3 separate regions of the Homo sapiens genome follow, and regions 1 and 2 are each linked to region 3. The links are contacts of gene promoters, found by promoter capture Hi-C in blood cells and fetal thymus (Javierre and others, 2016). All regions are on one chromosome and are shown on one strand. Each heading gives the region's core, a stretch centred on a gene start or on the middle of the fragment in contact. The rest is flanking DNA. Distances are from core to core; before and after follow the strand shown.

Region 1 (3,868 bases), core at 950-3,449, 2.7 Mb after region 3:
TTGAACTCCTGACCTCAGGTGATCTGTCCACCTCAGCCCCGAAAGTGCTGGGATTACAGGTGTGAGCCACTGCATCCGGCCAGCTGTGGCAGACAGGATGAGACTGTCTCAAAAACAAAAATAAAAAACAACCATGCTTAGGCCCTACTCCCAGAGATTCTGTTCATTTGGTATGGGGATGAGGTCTAGCCATTCGTAATTTATAAATCTCCCTACGTGATTTGAAATGTGCATCCAGAGTTGAGAAACATTGAAAAGGCTTAGAGCAATGGCCAGGTTTATTTCCTTCTTGTGGGTTTTGCACTAGCTGTTCCCTTTACCTGGTATGTTCTTCTCTAGGTCTTTCCATGAATCCTTGTTGTCATTCAGGACTCAGATTAAATGTTACTTCCTCAGGAAGACCTTCCCTGATCCCCCAACAAGCTAAAATAACACACCTACATTTATCACACTGTCTTGCTATTAATAGCAGTTCCTGAGATTTCTCTATTTATGCTTATTGTCTGTTTTTTTCCAACTGTCATATAAGCATCTTGAGTAAAGGCACTTTGTCTTATTCACTGCTGTATCCCCAGCACTTAGAACAGTGCCTGGCCCCTATAGGTATTCCAATATATGTGAATCAAAGAGAAAAAGGTCCTTTAAAATAAATTATTTTAGTTCTTCCGATGGCTGTTTTCTTTTCTTTTCTTTTTTTTTTTTTTTTTGATAAGAGTCTCTCTGTTGCCCAAGCTGGAGTGCAGTGGTGTGATCTCGGCACACTGCAACCTTGGCCTCCTGGGTTCAAGCGATTCTCCTGCCTCAGCCTCCTGAGTAGCTGGAATTACAGGCGCCCACCACTACCCCCGGCTAATTTTTGTATTTTTAGTAGAGACAGGGTTTCACCATGTTGGCCAGGCTGGTCTCGAACTCCTGACTTCAGGTGATCTGCTCGCCTTAGCCTCCCAAAGTGCTGGGATTACAGGCGTGAGCCACCTCGCCTAGCCCTGACGCGTATTTTCAACTGGCTTTTAATAAAATGTGTTTTAATTATGCAACATAATTGAACCACCCATGAAAAAAGCACACACTGATTTTTTGTAAATATATCTTAATTGCACTGGGTTCATTCTCTTCACAGGAATCTATATTAAATCTGTTGCAAAGCAAGTAATTATCCTTTAATGTATTTTTATACATGGTATTTGTTCCTAATGTTGCTTCTTAGGGAATACAGTTCACATAGTAGGGCAGCTGGGTATGGCAGGATACATTTATTAAATCAAGGGATTGCTGCTTAGAACTTTTGTGTTTGTTTTTGGAGACAGAAGACAGGAAACTGTAATTTTTAGAAGAGTAAAAAGGTATCTCAGGGAGCAAAAGAATCACAGGAAAACTCGAAGGCTCTGATTCCTTCTAAAAGAGGGACACATTTACCCTCTATTCTTCTGGGGGCACCTCTTTAACAAATGAATGTAATCTGGCGGAAGTGGGGAGTTTCAATTTTGGGTGGAGATACAGTAGTTGAGATTACTACAGTGTCTTGTTTCGTAGAGGTGTAAGCCAGTGCGGCAAAATCTCCAAGCTTGGTCTCAAGGAGGCAGCTGGGTCTAACTTACAACTCAGGCAGGTGATTTGAGGGCAGTGCAGCTGTCCTTAAGTCACCCGCGGGCCATTTCTGAAATGCTTTACTTACGAAAAGATAGAACATAACATCTGTTGCAGGGGGAAAATGAGATTTCGTGTCCTGACCCGCGTCTGCGGCAGGGACCTGAGTTCTTCCTCCAAGTCCCAAATAGCCAACCTTCGCCCCCGGCAACAGGGCTAGGTGCACGAGCAACCAGTTTTTCAGGCAGCCGCCTCCTCTTTCCTCTCTCGCCGTACTTCATCGATTACGGCTAGAAACAAAACGACTTTGTATACGGAGTAATGGTTGAAATCTCACTGGCGCCTCAGCAGGACGGGCAGCCAGATCCGCGGCTTTGGAGAAGGCCAGCCCACGGTCGTCCGACTGAGGCGACTTGAGCAAGACCAAAGGCAGAGCCGCCCGAGAATGAAAGCAGCGAAGCCCGAGTGGCGGTGCATTCTGGGAGTTGTAGTCCCTGCGAGACAACGCCGTCCCGACTCCACCAGGCTCTGCACTCCATCTCCCAGCCGACCCCGCGCCGCGGAGGAGGCGAGCTTGGTGATGAGCTGCCCCAGCGGTAGGGGGCCTGGGGCGGAGAAGCCGCTACAGCCGCGGCCGGGCGACGCTGACATCTGGCATCCCTGGGGTCTCAGAGACACGGGTGGACAGCGACGAGGGCCTTGTGGCCGCCGTGTGTACCCGTGCTTACCCTCTGTCCTCCCTACAGGCGCGCGGCGTCCGCCATGGAAGCGCATCCGACCGCTGGGGTCTCTGGGTGCCGCGGCCTCGGCTCTCCGGGGCGATGAGGGACTAGAGGCGCCCTGAGGCCCGCCTGCCTCCCGCGCTCTGGCCACCCCGGCGGGAAAAGGATCGGGCGGGCGGGCGGTCCCACAGTGCCCGCCTTTGCGCCGCCCCACCCCCTGGGGGCGCTGCCGAGGGGGCGCCAGCCGCCCATGCCGCCCCGGCGCCCAGCCGCGCCTGGCGCCCGCCGCTGAAGCGCAGGACGCGCCGCCGCCCGCGCTCACCGCCGTCCGCGCCAGCCGCCCCGAGCCGACTGCCCTTCTGCCCCCAAGATGTGGCACAGCGTCGGGCTGACTCTGCTTGTGTTCGTGGCCACGCTGCTGATCGTCCTGCTGCTGATGGTGTGCGGTGAGTGGGGGCGGTAGCCGCGAGGCAGTTCCACACGCCGGGTCGCTGATCTGCTGGGGTTTTTTTTGTTGTTTGTTTTTTTGAAAAAAACAAAAGGGCGTGGACGGACAATTGTCTTAAAATCAACTGTTGTCCCTTAGCCTCTAGGGCTGAGCGCAGAGGTGGGCCCTTTACTCATGGCCGGCCCTCGGGCATCCTGGGGAGGGAAAGGACAGGCTCCAGGGCTTCCTGCCTCTGAGTGAAACTCAGCCTTGCTTCACCGGCAGCGTCTGCTCTTTCATTCTCACCACAGGCTGCCCAGATTGTAACCTTGGCCTGCATTCGAAGGTGAAGTGATTGATTGGTCCTTTTTCATTTGCACAGATTCTGACCTTAATAATGAGAGGTGTCACCTTCGTTTCATCAGCGAGTGGGGTAGAGTTGGGTTTTCAGCACGCGTGAAATTGTTTACTTAGAGTTCAGCCTTAAACTCAATTCCAAGCAGAGATGTGGAGACCAGGCAGAGCTTAGAAACACCGGCTATATTAAACTTGCAGGGTCGGGTAACCTAACTCTCAGTTCTATAATAATGGTGCTATTTCGAATGCTGTGCGTATTTTCCTTCTTGGAATGAGAGGACGTTCAACTTTTTTCTTCAAATAATGGTAGCCCAATTTTAGATCTTTTTGATTTCTTTGTACATGTATAGTAGCTGATAACCACAGGTCTCTTAGCAAAGTGGCTAAGCAATTGTGAAAATCTAAAAAGTACGTAGAACACGTGTCAGTGAGTTTACACATATTTATAAGACTGAAGTATGGGTTCAGGTTGATGTAATAATGGGTCAGAATTCATACAGATACTATAGGGCTTGTTCATTACACGATAAATGTACAAATTAATACTTAGTGACGCTGTGGAATATATGTGTGCACTTGTGCATATGCATGTGTATGTATTTATAAACTTATATGTTTATTTTATTTTTTGAGATGGAGTCTCGCTCTTGTTGCCCAGGCAGGAGTGCAATGCAGTGGCCTGATCTTGGCCCACTGCAACCTCTGCCTCCTGGGTTTAAGTGATTCTCCTGCCTCAGACTCTCGAGTAGCTGTAGCCGGGATTACAGGTGCCCGC
Region 2 (3,357 bases), core at 531-3,030, 2.4 Mb after region 3:
ACTATCATCCTCAATTTAACAGAATTGTTAAAAACTTGGAATTTTCTACAATCAAGCTATAACATTTATTGACCTTCCTATGGGTTAAAGAAAAAGATGCTTATTTAGAGGCTTAATTATAGACCTACACAAAAATAAATACCCTTATAATTTATCTCTCATTCTAGTTTTCAACTTTTTAATCTAAGTTCATAATTACCGTTTCTCTAAGTGCACAATTGTTGTAAATATAGCCTTTACTCTCAACAGCTTTTGCCAGCTAATAAGAGATTCAGATAGGATTAAAGAAGATTAGCAAAGAGGGCAAATGAAGGGTAAAACAAGCGTCTGCCAAAAACTGAAGAGATAAGGCTTGGATGTCTTCAACGTGGCTTTCTAGAACATATTATGTCACTCCGAGGCTGGCTTAACGCTTCTAATACACAACAAAAGAGTAATTAACGTTTTAAAAGTCACCAAACTCTTTAAAAAGCAACGCAGGAAAAAAAGATCCCAAACTAACCAAGTCGAAGTTTTACAGAAATTAAATGAGCTATTACAATGGGAAAACAAAGACTGTATCTTAAAATATAAAAGCACAGTTCTCTGTGCTCATATTCACAAATTATTTCAAAGCTTATACACAAAAAAAGTCCACCCCGACGAAGAGATTAAACGTCCTGCCCGGTGCCTGCAGTGGAAGCAGGCGGTGGCGCGGTTGGGGGAACTTTCTCCCTCCCGGTCAAGCCTCGGGAATTGAAGGGCCGGGGAGGCGGGGCCCGATCGAAAAGCTGGAAAGTCACTTTTGTTTTCACCATTATTTCACTTAATGGGTTGTGTTTCTGAATAAATAAAGTCAGATAACTTTGGCTTCCCTCTTTGAGAATTCCGTTATCATTAGAACAAATGTCTGTTTCTTTTAAACGATTATCTAACCACATTTGCATACAGCTCTTTCCTTGTAGGATTGAGATTACTAACCACTAAAAACCAGTTTTATTGCTCTCGACACCGCACTCTCGACCTGTCCCTAAATTAAAACGGATTACTTGCAGAAAAGGGACAGTTTTCGTCACACACTTTCTGATCCGACTCTGCAAACCAGGGCTCTTAAAAGGCTCCAGGGACCGCGTGGTGGAAGGAGGGGGCGTCCCCGGGCGCCGGGAGTCCGGCGCCGTTGGGGGGGACGGGGGTGTGCGGAATTCCACTTTCACCTGAGCGTCCTTTGGGATGCACCAGCGAGGGCTGGAGTCGGACCTAATTCCTGTTTTTCTCCCTCCTTTTAGATTTTGCAACAGTTCTGAACTCAGTTCCGCTGCCTCCCTGAGACCCAATCCTGCCTCTCTGTCCTAAAAACAGTTTCCACCGCCAGCCCAAGCAGCAGGGGAGCAGAGGTGGGAGATCCCGGAGGAGAGTTTAGGGGCGGGGGTCTCAGGCTAAGGGACGCCCGGCCGTCATCCTCCCACGCCAGGCCGGCCCCCGCGGTCCAGGAGGCGGGAAAGTGGTCAAGAGGTCTGGGAGACACCGACCGCCTTCCCTCGGGCTGACCACTCCCGCCCGCTCCGCCCCTCCGGGGACCCTCCTCCCTCCAGTCCTTCCCCTACCGGCGTCAGGGACCGGTCTCCGGGCGGAGATTGGCCCTGGTAGCACAGGGCGCCGAGGGGACATGCCCGGCCAGCCTCGCAGGTCGGGCTCCGGCTGGGTCGGACAGAGGGTGGTGGCCCTGCAGCCCGCTGGGGATTACCTGTCCGCGCCTGCTGCTTACCTCGTTCGCTCCCTTGTGAAGCTCCGGCGTCTTGTGTGTTTCATCTCCTAGGAAACGGCGGGGGCAGCAGGCGGGCCTACGGCCGGCCCAGAGAGGGCGTGGCCTCGCGGGAAATCCCCGCCAATTCCCGCAGGCCCCGCCTTCCCCGGGGCGGGGCTTCATGGAGCCGGGGGACTGTCGGCTGAGCTGCAGCAAGTGTGCCATTTAGACTTGGGGTTTAGGGGAGTTGATTACCTTTTCAGTCAGGTCTTTGTCAGAAGTTGGTTTGTTTGCCCTTTATTTTGTTTTGGTTTTGTTCCGATTCATTCTACAAAGTCTTGATTAATTAAAATATGGTTCCCAGACCGGGCAGAGCAAGAGAAGGAAGTCTGTTTGCCTCATACTTGCACTTGTTTACTTGTGCCTGGGGAAAAACTGTTCTTGTATGCAGTTCCTTAAATTGGTCAATTCCTTGGGTATGTATTACCTCTTGAGCTGCCCTTCTAAGTTTGTTTCCATTTATTCATTCAGAGAACCTGCCTAGTATCAGCCACAGAGTTAGATAGTGGTAATTCCAAGAAAAATGACTGAATGTGTGAATAAATGGGTAAATTGTAACTAGTCTAGAATTTAGAGAGGAAGGCACACTTGTGTTACTGCAAATAGTTCAGATTGGCTGGCAAAAAGGGTCTACGAAACAGAAACATAAGTGATGAAGCAGTGGTGCGGCAAGTTAGTAATTATTAGGTGTCAGGATGTGGGCTTGGGACCAAGAATAGCGCCAAGGTAGACACGACAGACATGCCTGTGGCCCTCACAGCTTAAAGTGAAGTAGGCTTTCACGCGTATGTTTATGGCAGCACAATTCACAATTGCAAAGATGTGGAACCAATCTAAGTGCCCATTGACTAATGAGTGGATAAAGAAAATGTGGTATATATACACCATAGGCTGCTACTCAGTCACAAAAAAAGAATGAAATAATGTCTTTTGCAACAACTTGGAAGAGTGGGAGGTCCTTATTCTACGCAAAGTAATACAGGCGTGGAAAACCAAAAACTGTATGTTCTCACTTATAAGCAAAAGCCAAGCTATGAGTATGCAAAGGCATACACAGTGAAATAATGGACTTTGGAGACTCAGAAAGGGGAGGATGGGAGAGAGCCTAGGGATAAAAAAAACTATGCACTAGGTACCATATACACTACTCAGATGATGGGTGCACTAAAATCTCAGAATTCACCACTATATAATTCATCTATGTAACAAAAAACCACTTGTACCCCAAGAGCTATTGAAATAAACATTTAAAAACAGACGGGGCTCAGTGGCTCATGCCTGTAATCCCAGCACTTTGGGAGGCCCAGGTGAGTGGCTCACCTGAGGTCAGGAGTTCAAGACCAGCCTGGCCAACATGGTGAAACCCCATCTCTACTAAAAATACAAAAAATATCTGGGTGTGGTGGCACATGCCTGTAATCCCAGCTACTCGGGAGGCTGAGGCAGGAGAATCACTTGAACCCAGGAGGCAGAGGTTGCAGTGAGCGGAGAACGTGCCACTGCACTCCAGCCTGGGTGACTGAGCAAGACTCTGTCTCAAAATAATAATAATAATAAATGGCCAGGCGCGGTGG
Region 3 (3,595 bases), core at 421-2,920:
ATTAATGACTGATACTAACCATCATCTAAAAAAAAAAATGGGCCAAACTCCTTGTGATGCAAGGAGCAAAAATGAAGCATGGAATTAAAATTAGTTTTCAGACTAAATGATCAACATTGTGCTTTGCTTTTGAAGCTCACAGTAATCAGTGAAACTAAAATATATATATATATATTTTAAAAATCACAGGTGTGTATAATTGCCTGAGGCCTCTTCCTAAATTCAACACAGATATTCAACTTCAACTGCTAAAATGGAATAAAAAGGTAGCATTTCCGGCATACAATGTATATTTAAAAATTAAAATTAGTGATAATGTTGAGTTACAATGACCTATTGAAGTCACAATTATTTCAGTTTATTTTTGAGTTTTCCGACCTGAAGGACAAAAGTCCCACACCAAAAAAAGGTAGAATATGAAAAAAAAGTCATTACGGTGTCATTAACCTGAAAAAACGTGATTTTAACTATACTTTGCCACACTCAACGTTACAAATAAAAGAATCTTACCATGCCATTATGCCTTGATTAACTGCGCTCCGGAATCAATCATGGCCTATGGTGTACGATTATAAAACAGAAAAAACAAAGTTCCATCTCATTTCTTTGTACACACATCATTACACAAAGGTGGAGAAACCCTGTGCTAATGTTTGAAGACTATTCTTTTTTTTTTCCAAGAGAAAAAGTTAACACTAGGACTTTATATATTAAGTAATTAAGTAAAAATAACGCTGTCTAAATTATTTTGAAATGCTGCCTCTCTTCCAAGTTCCAAACTATCTCAATTCACTTAGAAAAACGTTTAATCAAAAAACAATTCTAGGCTTCTGATATCCTAATGTAGAAAAAATGCAGATACTCAACACTTAAGATTTTGTTAGCGCACCAAATCATTCCATCTTTTACTTTCAATATTCCTTAAATAATAAAAAGACGGGAGAGATAATTCAGTTGCAAAGACTGGAGGAAACTTGCAGAACTTCTAGTGGAAGTTTATGCCATAAACTTAATAGCCCAGCCAGAACAATCACATTCTACTGCAAGCCAAATGGAGAAAAGAGTACCTTGGAGTGCCCCTATTTAATAAACACGGAACGAGGAAACAGTTAACTGTAAATACAGTCTAGAGGTATCCAGGTGACTGACAGTTCTCCAGAGACCCCGAGAACAGCGTAAAAGACCCCTTGAGGTCACCTCACCCCTGCGAGTCCACGGATTGGGACCTGAGGGAGTTCTCGCCAGCCCGAGGGCGAAAAACGGGCGAGGAGGAACAGATGCTCCTCCCTGGAAACCGCCCGGCCGGTTTCCGCTCTTTCAAAAAAGGGAATCACCCGTTTCTTCCATCCCGACCTCATCCATTCCTCGAACGCTCCTTCTGGATGAGGAAGATGGGCAGTGTCAAGGTTTTCTGGAGGAGAGGAGATCTGGGTCCCAAACACAGGAAAGGCCCCGAAGGCACGCGTACCCCAAGGCCGGTATGTCACCCGGAAGGGTGACGGCAGCCTGCGTGGCGTCTGAGCTAGACGGAGCATCTCCCCCTCCCCTGGTCCGTCGCCATCACCTCCTCTTCCTCCTCCTCCTCGCCCACTCCTGCACTTTCCACCGCGGCGGTCGCCTCCCCGGAAAGCACTCTCAACTCCGGCGCCCGCAGGCCACTTCCGCCTATGTGTCCCTGCGCGCGTGCGCAGACGCGTGGCCCCGCCTCCCGACAGGCCTGTGTGGCCGGTGGCGGGCGGGCCGTTACCTCCCGCGCATGCTCTATGGGGTAGAGACGCTAGGCCGGCACTGCCTAGGTGGGCCGGGCGGTGCGAGGGTCGCCTTTCAGCCTTTACCTCTACCCACTGAAATGGAGTAGGTCGGTGAGCGCCGATCTGCTGGAGAATCTCATTATCCCATCGGCGCTCTGCCTGCTCCTGGCCTCCAAGCCTCTGAAGCCCCTCGGGTTTCAGCTGCCGGCTACCCTCGAGCCCGTGGTGCCCACGAGAGAGGCGACTTTACGTCAGCGGCCCTGGGCTGAGATTTGAGAACGCGACCAAGTGGAGAATGTTGGAGCCAGATTTTAAAATCCTTGTCTTCCTTCTGCGTGCTACTTGATCTAAATGAGATACGGCAAAGTCACAGAACCTGTTTTTATGTTTTTGCCTGATTCATACGGGCTTCTCCGGTGAAGATGGGCCTGAAGTAACGCTTGGGTTGCTTCTGACGTTATAACTCATCCTGTAGCTGCAGCAACCGTGGTCCTTGCAACCTCATAAAAATGTTGCCAGCATTGTTTCGATAGTGCTGCTTAATTCTTGGAAGGTAAATCTCAAAGCTTGAGGACCAGCCATCAAAACTTTTGTAAAAGGTTTTCCCCGCGTTTAGGGCCTCATCCATCACCACTGAGATGTAATAACGTAAAAACCAAGACGGTTTGGGGATGAGCTGTTTTCAGAGAATAATTAAGGAAAATATTACTGTAACGAAGATGGACAATTTTTGAAAGCATGCCTTGAATACCAGAAAGGGATGAATTGGATTAATATGTATGTTAGAATCCAGTCAGTTATGGACAACTTTTAAAATTTTACAGGCACTCTTCAGAAAGGGTAGCATTTGTGTCTTGTATTGGGATCGAGGGTTTGTAAGAAAGCAAGGCACCTACTTTGGTGGTGAGAAAAAAAGGTCTGGGTAGACATTTTCGTTTAATACTTGCCAACGTTGTTAGGCTGGTGTTAGCAACACTTAGGAATGTTGGAATTAAGGCTTAGAGAACTTAAATTTCCTAAAGAGATAGTAAATGACAAAACCTTTCAGTGATGCCATATCGTCACTGTATAATGTGAATTTAGTACTACTGTTAGCCATTTATATGGTGGTTATTTATCAAGTATTTATTAAATGGGCATATGTATAGCTCATATCGTAAACTATGCGTATGAGCTCCCTGTCCTGAAGAAATTAGGGGTTTCCATGAGAAAGTAAATGGCAGTATAAAACAACTTAAGGTACAAGAGGTGTTACAAGGTACCATCTGCTCATGCCTGGACAATTGCAGTAGCCGTGAGCATAGCTTTCTGCATTCCCTTTATTTCTCTACATAGTTGCATTCAGCAGCTGGAGTGATCCCATTAGAACCTGAATATGCCACTCCTCTGTGCAGAACCTTTTAGCGGTTTACCATTTTACTCAGATTAAAGTTCAAAATTCTTACCCTGACTTTTAAGACTGAACTTATTCTTGATGGATCACATCCAAGCTACACTTCAGAGCTTTTCTAATTGCCCCCAAGCACAGCAAGCATCAGTGCTTTGTAGCTGTTGTTCCTTCTGCATGGAACACTGCCCTCTCAGATGTCCACAGAGCTTGCTTCCTCATTTTTTTCCAGTCACTGCTCAAATGTCACCTGGCTCTTCTCTGACTACCATGTCAGTGAAATATTTTTACATGTCAAATGTGAAATGTAGGAGAGACTATCTGGAGTAGTACTTATTATAGAGTAGGTGTTTAATAAATATCGACTCTCTTACAATACTTCCCATTTACTCCTGTGATAACCACGTGGTAAACAAAATTAAAGACTTGCAGCTATGAATTGTTTTTTATTGACTGA

What was found. Contacts are between HindIII fragments. The CHiCAGO score rates a contact against its expected background, and 5 or more counts as called.
Region 1: the fragment with the promoter of SMIM13 here is called in contact with the fragment with the promoter of SLC35B3 in region 3 in 2 of 17 cell types (non-activated CD4 T cells and activated CD4 T cells); the score reaches 6.9 in non-activated CD4 T cells.
Region 2: a contact is called between the fragment with the promoter of MAK here and the fragment with the promoter of SLC35B3 in region 3, in 2 of 17 cell types (activated CD4 T cells and naive CD4 T cells). The highest score is 6.3, in activated CD4 T cells.

Annotation. Positions count from the first base shown.
Region 1 is chr6:11,091,635-11,095,502 of GRCh38, forward strand. SMIM13 (small integral membrane protein 13) reads left to right here and starts at 2,200. Exons shown (of 2, transcript NM_001135575.2): 1 at 2,200-2,755. The coding sequence starts at 2,680. RefSeq lists enhancers at 1,807-2,347, 1,890-2,099, 2,348-2,889, 2,770-2,889 and a silencer at 2,360-2,669. The HindIII fragment of the contact is 2,504 bases long and covers 1,563-3,868 here.
Region 2 is chr6:10,836,759-10,840,115 of GRCh38, forward strand. MAK (male germ cell associated kinase) reads right to left here and starts at 1,781. Exons shown (of 15, transcript NM_001242957.3): 1 at 1,745-1,781. RefSeq lists a silencer at 1,844-1,973 and enhancers at 2,194-2,253, 2,304-2,463. The HindIII fragment of the contact is 3,144 bases long and covers 614-3,357 here.
Region 3 is chr6:8,433,875-8,437,469 of GRCh38, forward strand. SLC35B3 (solute carrier family 35 member B3) reads right to left here and starts at 1,671. Exons shown (of 10, transcript NM_001370479.2): 1 at 1,469-1,671. It overlaps LOC100506207 (a long non-coding RNA gene), which reads left to right and starts at 1,749. Exons shown (of 5, transcript NR_038980.1): 1 at 1,749-2,304. RefSeq lists enhancers at 1,299-1,438, 1,411-1,952, 1,449-1,508, 1,709-1,878, 1,819-1,898 and 1 more. The HindIII fragment of the contact is 10,856 bases long and covers 1-2,315 here.